Regions from separate parts of the Homo sapiens genome. Here all the other regions are linked to region 3. Evidence: promoter capture Hi-C in 16 types of primary human blood cells and fetal thymus (Javierre and others, 2016). All regions are on one chromosome and are shown on one strand. The core of a region is centred on a gene start or on the middle of the fragment in contact, and the rest is flanking DNA. Distances in the headings are between cores, read along the strand shown. Region 1 holds the start of HPGD (15-hydroxyprostaglandin dehydrogenase). Region 2 overlaps NEIL3 (nei like DNA glycosylase 3). Region 3 holds the start of SPATA4 (spermatogenesis associated 4).

Evidence for each region. The method cuts DNA at HindIII sites, captures the fragments that hold promoters and counts their contacts. A CHiCAGO score of 5 or more calls a contact.
Region 1: a contact is called between a fragment that was not itself captured here and the fragment with the promoter of SPATA4 in region 3, in 1 of 17 cell types (fetal thymus). The highest score is 6.1, in fetal thymus.
Region 2: a fragment that was not itself captured here is called in contact with the fragment with the promoter of SPATA4 in region 3 in 1 of 17 cell types (total CD8 T cells); the score reaches 6.3 in total CD8 T cells.

The regions. Positions count from the first base shown.
Region 1 is chr4:174,521,411-174,523,989 of GRCh38, forward strand. It overlaps HPGD (15-hydroxyprostaglandin dehydrogenase), which reads right to left and starts at 1,078. Exons shown (of 7, transcript NM_000860.6): 1 at 949-1,078; 2 at 534-657. The coding sequence starts at 1,041. LOC105377548 (a long non-coding RNA gene) reads left to right here and starts at 1,203. Exons shown (of 7, transcript XR_007058492.1): 1 at 1,203-1,719; 2 at 1,975-2,011. The HindIII fragment of the contact is 179 bases long and covers 1,241-1,419 here.
Region 2 is chr4:177,320,359-177,324,526 of GRCh38, forward strand. NEIL3 (nei like DNA glycosylase 3) reads left to right here. Exons shown (of 10, transcript NM_018248.3): 2 at 2,101-2,222. Among named protein-coding and RNA genes, the nearest start is that of NEIL3, 13 kb to the left of the region's middle. The HindIII fragment of the contact is 274 bases long and covers 2,214-2,487 here.
Region 3 is chr4:176,193,109-176,197,473 of GRCh38, forward strand. SPATA4 (spermatogenesis associated 4) reads right to left here and starts at 2,477. Exons shown (of 6, transcript NM_144644.4): 1 at 2,237-2,477; 2 at 345-474. The coding sequence starts at 2,454. The HindIII fragment of the contact is 1,203 bases long and covers 1,967-3,169 here.

The DNA of each region.
Region 1 (2,579 bases), core at 80-2,579, 1.7 Mb before region 3:
TATTATTATTTTAAAGTACTGTCTCATTGGGGAAAAAGCCGGAGAAAACATATGGTCAAAAGCATCTAGCACTTCTGTGATGATGCTCCTTGAACTTGTATTCTGATATGTTTAAACGAAAAACACTGCCACATTTGATTGTCATTGGACTCCAGCTTTCTGGGAGAAGTTGTTTGTCAACAGTACCTTACTTAACCTACTTTAATTTTCCAAGTTTTGTCTGCAATTTCAATCATTTAATAATTACTGCAGCAGCACTGTCTTTGAATACATAAAGGAATTTTGATTACATTAATGCTGCCAAATGACTACAATAAAAGGATTTCTCCAGCAGTCTTGCCTTTCTTTCGGTTTTACAGCTATTGGGCTGTCAGAAGGAAACGTATCAGTCCAAACTGTCTTTTGGAGCTTCAAGGTAGCTGCTCTCGAGGAGGCAGCGGAGGCGGCACCCAGGGCCCCCTGGCCGGGCTGCCTTCAGGTTGTTGCTTGTTGAGAGCACGTTCCCAGTTGACAGATTGATTCCCCTGTCTTACCTCTCAGTTGTTGCTGGTCAGCCACATCGCACTGGATGAACAGAGTCTTCTGAGGTTCAAACTGCTCATCCAGGGCAGCTTTACACTGTACACCTGCTTCAAGATTCCAATCCACCAGCGCTACCTATAGACAAGAGGAGAGGAATCGCGGGCCTGCGCAGCTCACGAAATAGACGGACAAACAATAAACACACAAGAGGCTCCCCTCCTGGACCTGAAATTTGGCAATTAGGTTTGGGTTCCCTCCCAGCCACTTCTGAGGTGTGCTCACAGCCTCAGCTTCAGCAAATTTTGGAAGTGGCAAAGTGGGCACGCCGGGCGCGGCCTCCCTGTCTCCGCCAGTGCACCTCGGGCGGCGGGGCGAGTCTCGGAGTGTGTGGGCAGAGAAATTTCCGCGGCTGGGCGCCGGGCTTACCTTGGCGCCCTTAAGCAGCAGCGCCTCTGCAAAGGCTCTGCCTATGCCCTGAGCCGCGCCGGTCACCAGCGCCACTTTGCCGTTCACGTGCATGGTGCAGCCACTGCTGGGGCGGGCGGTGGGCGAGCTCCGCGTCTCCGCGCGGCCGCGGCTTTTATGCCCCCCTGCGCGCGCGCGCGTGCAGCCCGGCGGGGCGCTCCCCTGCCAGTGGGCGGGGAGGAAACTGTCAAGCCAGCGCCCGCCGGGGAACCCACGACTGTGTCACCTGCCCCCTGAGCGTTCTGGAGCGCCAAGCTTCGCGATCTTTGCCTTCCGGACTCGCAGACCGGCTCAAAGCCTCCCCTCAGCCTCTGGCTCCGTGATTGGCAGGCAGCTGACAGAAGAAAAGTTAAAAGGTTATTTCTGAAGAAGAGTTTCCTTCAGTGCCCTAAAGACCAACTGGATAGAAGGAGAGCGGAGCAGAGGCTTGGAAGCTTGGATCCCTCCTCCTGCACTCCCTCCCGGCCCCGACTCCGGAACAAAACAAGCAAACAATAAAGCAAACTTGTTGCTCTTTTGTCTCAAAGTTTTGTGTGAGTTCCCATCTCGTAATCAGTGGGGTTGAGGGTGACGGGGAGCAGAAGTAACTAATATCATTGTGTTTTCTTAGTTACATTTTGGACAAATTTTTACGGATACTGGAGATGAGAAGTGGACTCTGCTCTGTCCTGAAAACCTGGAATCATAACATTTCATGGCTAGGACTAGAGTGTCCTTGGCGCTGTGTTTCTGGTCAGTGTCAATTGTGTGTCATATTGAGATGCCCCCACAAAAACTGTCATCATCAACAGGCGCTCCAGAGCCGCTGGTAGCCTACCAAATTGTTGGCTCAATGGAATGCTTACTTGTTGAAATACACCAACTTTGGAAGCTCTGAGTCAAGTTTGGGACAGAGGTTCCTTGCTCTCCAGGAACTCCAGGGCTAGCTGTATGCGGACTTGCATAAATAACAAGGGCTATTCCACTGACTTTGTCTCTTTTTCTCAGGTTGTCAGCGGCAGGCTGCAATTTTAATTCTGTAAACGTAAGTGGTTGGCTTTTTTTTTTTTTTTTTTTTTTTAATCTTGAGACAAGATCTCGCTCTGTCTGTTTGGCTAGAATGCAGTGGCATAATCCCAGCTCGCTGCAACCTCAATCTCCAGGGCTCAAGCGACCCTCCCACCTTGGACTCCCAAAGAGTGCTAAGATTACAGGCATGAGCCACTATGCCCAGCTGGCATTTATTTTCTTAAAGAAAAAAAAAATCTAAATACTTGGGGGAAATGGGAGTTGAGCAAAAGACTGACACTAACAGCAGAATGAATCATTTTTATATCTTCTTTACCTTCTTTACTGGGAAAGGTGGCTGGCTCAGCAGGGAAGGAGTGTATGAGGAGACTGTGTAAAATGTGTCTTGTCGCGTTGTTGGTAAGCCGCTAAGCAAATGTCTTTAACATTAATTTGAAATTAGGTCTTGACAAAATCTTGAGAAATTAAAACAGGAAAATAGATATTTGTACTCTAGGATGATAATTAAAATTGTAATATGAAGAGTAAATTGAGGGGTCATATTGAAAGGGAATAATAGTAGAAGACAAAAAGAAAACAAGGAA
Region 2 (4,168 bases), core at 1,101-3,600, 1.1 Mb after region 3:
CAGAAAGGGCAACCAAAGACTGAGCTTTGAGGACATGGTGGCATATACCTACAGTCTCCAACAGGTTCTTTTTTTGTGATTTGTGCAGAACAGGAAGTGACTGCTGTCTTTTTTTTTTTTTTTTTTTTTTTTTTTTTGAAACGGAGTCTCGCTGTGTCTCCCAGGCTGGTGTGCAGTGGCGTGATCTCGGCTCACTGCAAGCTCCACCTCCAGGGTTCACGCCATTCTCCTGACTCAGCCTCCCGAGTAGCTGGGGCTACAGGCGCCCGCCACCATGCCCGGCTAATTTTTTTTGTATTTTTAGTAGAGACAGGGTTTCACGGTGGTCTCGATCTCCTGACCTCGTGATCCGCCCGCCTCGACCTCCCAAAGTGCTGAGATTACAGGCGTGAGCCACCGCGCCGGGCCTGCTGTCATTTTTAATTACTCCTGTGCATTTAATTTATCTGTCATTCTAAGCCAGTGATTGATTCTCCAGTTCTTAAACAAAGGAGGGATATATAAAGCCAGTCGCCTGAACTTCAGGCAGTTGGAAAATTCTGGCATTGACTGTAGCTATTTCAACCTTGAATGGGTTTAGTGGAAGAATAGTGTCTGTCTCTTTTTTTTTTTTTTCTTTATCTCCCTGTTATCTCTCTTTGAGCTAAGTACTGTGATTGTATCTTAACAAAGACCAATTTAGTGAAATAAAGAATAGAGTGGACATGTCATCTTAAGCATTTAGAATGACAAATGTCTGTAAAATCAAAAGTTTGAGAATCACTGAACAATATCATTTCACTCTAAATTGAGGAAAAATTGTGACTTGTTTCTAGACTCTGTATCTAAAGCTGTTTTATAATTATATCTTGACATTTCCCCACTCCCACTGCCCACCAAGGTTTCGTTCAGAATCTTCTGAGGATCCTTAGGCCCATTTGAGAAAAACACAAAAGAAGTTAGAGGTAAATGAGGATATTACCTTAGACTGAGTTAATGCGTAGATGTAATTCTGTGTACCCTATTTTATCTTATATAATAATTACGCATGTCTTAAGTTTTACATTTTTATTACATTTTGAGTTTAAATTAAATAATGTTTATAAAACATATATAAATAATAAAAAATAATGACATAAGAAACACCAGTATACATAATGCTCAGTTTAAGAAAAAGGGCATTACTAAAATCTAAACCAAACGCCCTTTCTTTTCTTCTCCCACAGAAGAACCTACATTTTATATTTTTGTTTTCTGTTTAATTCATGTTTATAATTTCCTCGAATATCTTATAGGATTCTGCCTATATGTTGTCATTCTAACAATATATTGTTTGGTTTTGCAAGGCTGATGGGGGAAAGGGAATATGAGTTTATTTTTTCTTTATTCTTAACATTGTGCTTGGAATAGGACAGGTCTCAAATTAGATTCCCCTACTCAGGGGGCCGCAGGTTTTTATCTCTGATCTCCTGCACCCTCACAAGATGTGAAAATTGAAGCTCTCATTCCTTAGTTTCATGTGAAAATTGAAGCTCTCATTCCTTAGTTTCAATCAATGCCCTTAGGATAGATGCTGGCTTCACAGCTCTCCCTACTACCTCTCAGGGTTCTCTCCCGCTTTTAGTTTTTGACCTTTTATTATTTCATACTAGCTTAAAAGTTCATCGGTGAAGTTAAAAATATTTTGTTTTCATATTTTATCATCTGTCATTTGTAGCTGTTTTTATCTGACCACTCTTTCAGGGAACTTGGCTATATACTTCTGGAAATGGAAGAACCTATATTCCAGTTTTTAGTTTTAGAACATTCGTGTTGTATTCCTATGCTTTCTTTTCATATGCACAGAGCTATATGGTCCTGGAAGAAACTTTATTTTGCTTGTCTACCAATTACTTTTTTTCACTTAATTTTTTTGGCCTCTCTCTCTTTAAATGACTGCATAGTGATTTGACAAAATGTATGTAAACAGCCGATTACATTACATGACTTGTTGGAGATTATTCTTCTCATTGGAATGCACCTGGGCGTGAAGTAATATAAACACATTTAAGAATTAAATAATGCTTTTGCTTAGAGTTTGTGTGTGTGTGTGCTTATGTGTGTACATGTATTTTCCACTAGGCTGCTGCACTGAATAATGATTCCAGCCAGAATGTCTTGAGCCTGTTTAATGGATATGTTTACAGTGGCGTGGAAACTTTGGGGAAGGAGCTCTTTATGTACTTTGGACCAAAAGCTTTACGGTAAGATAAGCCTGTACGATACATCTTATCTCTCTATATTTAAAGATGCGTAGAAGGCTAGATGGAGTTTGCCGGGTGTCACATTTAATCATATAGGAAGTACTGTGTTTTTAAGAGAGCTCCAATATGAGAGGTTGTGATTCTATCATGGAAATCAATAAACAGCAGAAGAATAAATTCTGATGTCATCATCACTTGGAAGACAGTCATTTTACAGGGCTTCCCAAGATGTATTAGAGCAACACATCTGTTTTGCTAGTCCCCAAGCTTCCTATACCACAAGTCTCTCCTTGTTTTTACCGAATGCTTATTGTATTCAGTGACATCGGTTACTTTATATTTGTGACAGGCCCTAGTTTGGTTTAAATGTATCACTTGATCTTTAAATATTTTTCTGGCTTCCTGCTTTCTCTGAAGCCTTGAATGGAATTTGGAAATTTACTTAGAGAGTGTAAAAACTTTCCAGAGAAATAACAGGTTCTCCATTGTTTCACAGTTCCCATGGAAATTCATGGCTAATATACTGGCAGAGAAGGACTAGCAACCTATTTCCTTTGTTGACTTAATGATAAAAAAGTCAAAATATATGTAATTGTGATGCATGATCACATGTTTAATTTTTGCAGGAAAATGAAAGCGGCCTTTGAGTTAATATGTCTACCCAATCTCATTCTGTCTTTTCTGAGTTTAGCCTAAGCTTTTGCCAACTGTAAAAATTGATACTGCTTCCTCAAATCGTTTTTAGTGCTGTTTAAAGATACTGACCACAGTTATCACCTTTTTCTTAAAAGAAAAGACCTGTTCCTGGACCCCATGCTAACCAAAGGTGAATAATTGTCACAAAGAGATGATACTATATGATTGTTCTTTATTGCATCTCATCTACCACATATTTAGAGTAATCCAGGGTTTATGTAATTGCTTTTCCTTTGAGGTGTTCTCTTTTCATTGTCAGCAGCTGCTGTCCTTGGACAACATTGTCACTTCATGGTTTTGCTTAGTCTGGAATTGATAACATCAGCATATGCCTAGTTGTTCATGCAGTAATGATATATTGCAGGTTACACTGCTGCTGTAGTAGACTGATGTGATGGAAAACTCATAGCTCTGGATAGAGTAGTACACAATGGGATCTATGCACGATAGTTGAAAACATTGATATGTTATTGATTCTCTGGTGTTAGGTACAGATTTATTTCTGTAAGATGAGAGGGGGTTTTTATCAAGTGCTCTCCACCAGACTGATAAGGGGGAAGTCATTTCTCAGCACACGGCTGTCAGTAAGTGTTCCATGAAGTTCTAAACAAGGACAATCACTTCTTCAAACTCATTGAACTAGTGCCCTCCCTGGAGAGTACCTATGTCAGTATATGGGTGGGAAAAATGCAGTGGCTTGCTTCCTTTCAGTTTCCTGCAGCCATAACAACTATTGGATGTAACAATTCAAGGTCAATGGCAGATCTGCTGTTGGAATCTGAACCTAAAATCATTTGCCCCTCTTTTCACAATGTAACAGAAGTTCAAAAAATGTACTTCCAACCTGTGCTTCTTAGAGGAATGGATAACTCTCTCAAAGAAATGTGATCTTTTTGTGAGGCTGCAGGTCTGTGCACCTGCAATAGAAATGTAGTCTTCATTTTTGACTTCTGCCTCCCACCCACCTGGCTCATCTGCATTTGATAGAGCATATAGCAGGAAACACTTTCAAAGGTTGCTCACAGTTTTCCCTTGATACCCAACTTTTCACAAGCAAAATTGCCCGCAGAGTTTAGTCATAAAGTGTGTGCATCTCATAGGTTGGGCCATGAATCTCCTGGGATTCATTGGTTGAATCTCCTGGGATTCATTTGTTAATGAAAGTAGAATACGAGCATAGCCTCTAAAAGAATCTGCCCTGTAAAAATCCACACATCAGAAAGATACAAATTAGAGAGTGATTACTTCTC
Region 3 (4,365 bases), core at 1,227-3,726:
AAGAACTTTTATAAAAATCTCCAAGTACTATGAATTCACTTTAATCTCCCTTTTATTTACCTATGAAGTAATTTTTGTGTTTAACACGTTAGTTATTAAAAGATAATATTCAGCAGGAAAACCAATCAGTATATATCATGCTAATGGAAATAATTATGCTCAGTTTCATAGGTGACTCATGACATAAACAGTTGGAATTTAATAAACTTTGTAATACACAGGAACAAGCTGCCAACTCAGTATCACACAGTCACACACATACACGTAGAGATCCAGGAAATTAGCATGGCACACTTTAAAACAAACATCTTAACAGTTAAAAGTGTAAATGACTGCTAACGTACCTTCTCCAACTGTGCCCAGTTATCCAACTTGACTTTTAAAGAGGTCCCGTTTTCAAAGGATGATAATTCAAGTTCCCAGGGGTAATATATACAGAATATTTCTGCAATTAGGAAGCCATTTGAAAAATCTCTGATCCGTGGCAATTAGGAAATGAAATAAAGTGTAGTTAATTATGCAGTTTGTATTATTTTATAATTAATACTAGTCTAATATTCCATACTAAAAGTATCTTGTAAAGTGAGTGTTGTTGGATCGTTGCTCTAAGGAGAACCTACTGTGGAATTTTGCTAAGATTATCTACGTTTCAAAGGCTTTGGTGTTCTTTTGATGAACCCAAACTGTTAATTTGTATTGAATCCGCATTTCAAGAAGATCCCCAGGTGATTCATATGCACTTTAAAATTTCAGAGGCATGGTTGTAAGTAATACTGAAGACAAATTAGTAAACTAGTCCCCCGCTTATCTGCAGTTTTGCTTTCTGCAGTTTCAGTTACCTTGGGTCAATCACAGTCGGAAAATATTAAATGGAAAATTCAAGAAATAATTTGTAACTTTTAAATTGTACTCTGTTCTGGGCAGTCTGATGAAACCTCCCTGCCTGCTCTGTGTTGCCTAGGATGTGAGTCCTCCCTTTGTCCAGAGTCTCCACGTTGTAGACATCAGTCACCTTTTAGTCATCAGATCAACTGTACAGTGTGGTGCGCTTGTGTGCAAAGTGCAAGAGCAGTGATGCTGGTGATTCAGATATGCCAGAGAGAAACCATAAAATTATTCCTTTAGGTGAAAAGATGAAAGTTCTTGACTTAATAGAAAGTTGTAAGAATGGTTACAATGGTAGGAATGAATCATATTCCTGAAATATGAAGAAAAAGAAATTCTTGATAGTTTCGGCATCACACCTCAAACTGAAAAACTTTCAGCCACAGTGTGTGATAAGTGCTTAGTTAAGATTTTTAAAAAGGCATTAAATTTGTGGATGGAAGACATAAACAGAAATGTGTTCTGACAGAGGGTTCTGTAGTATCCACAGTTGCCATCCACTGGGGATCTTGGAACCTATGCCTCTCTGATAAGGAGAGACTACTTTAAACCAGAGTTCTGCAAAAGATTCATTGCCTTTTTATAGAATTTAGTTTGCATTCCCAGAGCAAATATTAGCTGCCAGTTACATACAAAGTGCCTACAATTAAGCAGCAACTTTAAAAACTTGTTGGTAACTCTCAAACTAGATGCCATCTCCGACAAAGGGTAAACTGATCCTTACCAGTATTTTTTTTTTTTTTTTTTTTTTTTTTTTTTGAGACAGAGTCTTACCCTGCCACCTAGGCTGGAGTGCAGCGGCATAATCTCGACTCACAGCAACCTCCGCCTCCCGGGTTCAAGCATTCTCCTGCCTGCAGCCTCCCCAGTAGCTGGGATTACAGGCACCCGCCACCACACTGGGCTAATTTTTTGTATTTTTTAGTAGAGACGGGGTTTCACCGTGTTGGTCAGGCTGTTACTCAACTCCTGACCTCAGGTGATCCGCCTGCCTCGGCTCCCAAAATGCTGGGATTACAGGCATGAGCAACTGTGCCCGGCCGTCCTTACCAGTATTAATGCCCAATATCACTAAAGAAAAAGCTTTGACTATTTTAATATTTTTGTAGTCACCAAAGCATTCTATATTGTCCACAATTTAATGATTGGTTGATTAATTGAATAAACAAGATGTATCGTGGTATTTTGTTAAAGCCTTGTTCCCTAATAGTGTTTTCGTGTGTGTACGTGGGTGGGGGGGTCTTGATTTGAAACATAAGCCAGGCCAGGGTAGGCAATCTGAGGCCTGGCAGGCGGCGGAAAGCAGGCGGGGCGCCCACCGGGGGGGCCTAGGACTGGCTTACTCAAGCACCTGTTGATGTTCCTGGGGAAGAAGCTGAGATCCAGACCCTGAAGCCAACGCAGAACGGAACGAGACAAGCGGGAGCTCTTCGGCGCATGCGGATAGACCAGACACTTCTTAGGCCTCCCTCGGATGGGAGCTGCTAGCTGTGGCGAAAGTGACGGTGACTTGTCTAGGGCTGCCGCAGTCTGTGTCAAATACCCTTTTTCCTGGCCGGCGGCAGCCATGACGCTTTCTGGGTTGCTGCGGCAACAGCAGAAGGCGGGGCTGGGCCTTATTGCTGGCGGCGCGGTCTCGTGGGGCGGGGCGGAGTCTTATGGGGCGAGACCTCAGCGCCTGCGCAAGCGCCGCAGCAGCCGCCCGTACTTCCGCTTTACTCAGATTTTGGACCGCGGGGCCGGGTATCGAGGGAGGCAAAGCTGGGGTCCCAGTGGTGTGGCTGCGGTCTGGGGAGCGCTTTCAGTCTCAGATTTAGTTGGCCTCACTGTTAACCTATTTAGAGCTTTTTTTTTCTTATGTCATCGTTCATAAGTTTTGTATTTTAAATATTGTTGGTTTCTGCCCAGCCAAAGGCCTATTTTCAGTCGTCTAGTTTGAGGAGTGGTGTGAGAAGACTCCAGAGGCCAAGGACAGTTTTTGTTTGGGAATTGGAAGAGATGGGGGAAAAAAATCTTTGAAATGGAAATGAATGTCCACAAAATTTAACATAACTATTTCCTTAATTATTGCATTAAGTATTTGTAAACATTAATATTTGAAAACGATGTGTAGGTTAGATTTTCACACTTAATTAAAATCTCCTAGTAGGCATAATTCCTTCATTAATTCAACAAATATGTATTGAGTCCATATTATGTGCCACGCATTCATCTAGTCACTTGGGATCTATCTGAACACAATGAAAACAACTGCAAAGTTGGCATAGGCAATTATAAATATGTAAGCTTAATTATTAAAATCCATTAAAAATTTTTACAGCCACAGTTTTTTGTTTTTTGTTTTTTGTTTTTTGTTTTTTTTTGCTTGGCAGGGCACAGTGGGTCATGCCTGTAATCCCAGCACTTTGGGTGGTGGAGGCGGGAGGATCGTTTGAGCTCAGGAGTTCAAGACCAGCCTGGGCAACACAAGGTGGAGAGACTTTCGCTACAAAACAAACAAACAAACAAAATAGCTGGGTGTGGTGGTGCACACCTGTACTCTCAAGTACTCCAGATGCTGAGGTGGGAGGATTGCTTGAGCTCAGGAACTTGAGGCTGCAGAGAGCCAGGTGACAGGCCCTGTGGATACATACACATGGTAAAATATGGGATAGATCTTGATAATGATACTATGTAATATTTTTAATGTTTATTCATATACATGCTTATTAATAAAGTAAACCAGTGTATTCTGTATGTGGTTAAAAAAGAAAACCAAAACTGAAGCTATGTAAGTGTTTTCTGTTAGGCTAAAAAAGTTTTAATGAATGATTCATTCATTCTGTAAACCTTTTCTGAGGAACTATCCTGGAGTATGTGCTAGATCTTTACCATCCAATATGGTAGCCACTAGCCACATGTGGCTATTTAAACTTAAATTTAAATAAACTCAGTTCCACTGGCTACATTTTACCTGCTCAATAGCCATATGTAGCTAGTGGCTGCCATGTTGGGTAGGACAGACACAGCACTGTTCCATCACTACAGGAATTTCGATTGGACAGCTCTGTGCGGCAGATCATTTATAAGAGATTCAGAGATAGAAATATCAGTGAAAAGATTACATACACTGAAAAGCTCTGCCATGGTAAAAATATGTTAGCACCAGAAAGGAAGCAAATACTTTGGCCTGGGAGAGTGTAAGAAGTCCTCTCAAAAGAGATGACCATTAATTTGGATCTTAGAAGGTGGTATTTTAAGCTGATTTTTAAGATGAAAGCTTTGAATAGCCATTTCTACTGTGAAAGGAAATTAAATCTTGGGACCCCCCCCACCTCCCCCAAATCACTAAGCTAAAGGGAAAAGTCAAAGTGGGAACTGCTTAGGGCAAACCTGCCTCCTATTCTATTCAAAGTCACCGCTTAGCTCACTGAGCTAAATGCATACCTGATTGCCTACTCTGGAAAGGCTCATCAGAAACTCAACAGAATGCAACCATTT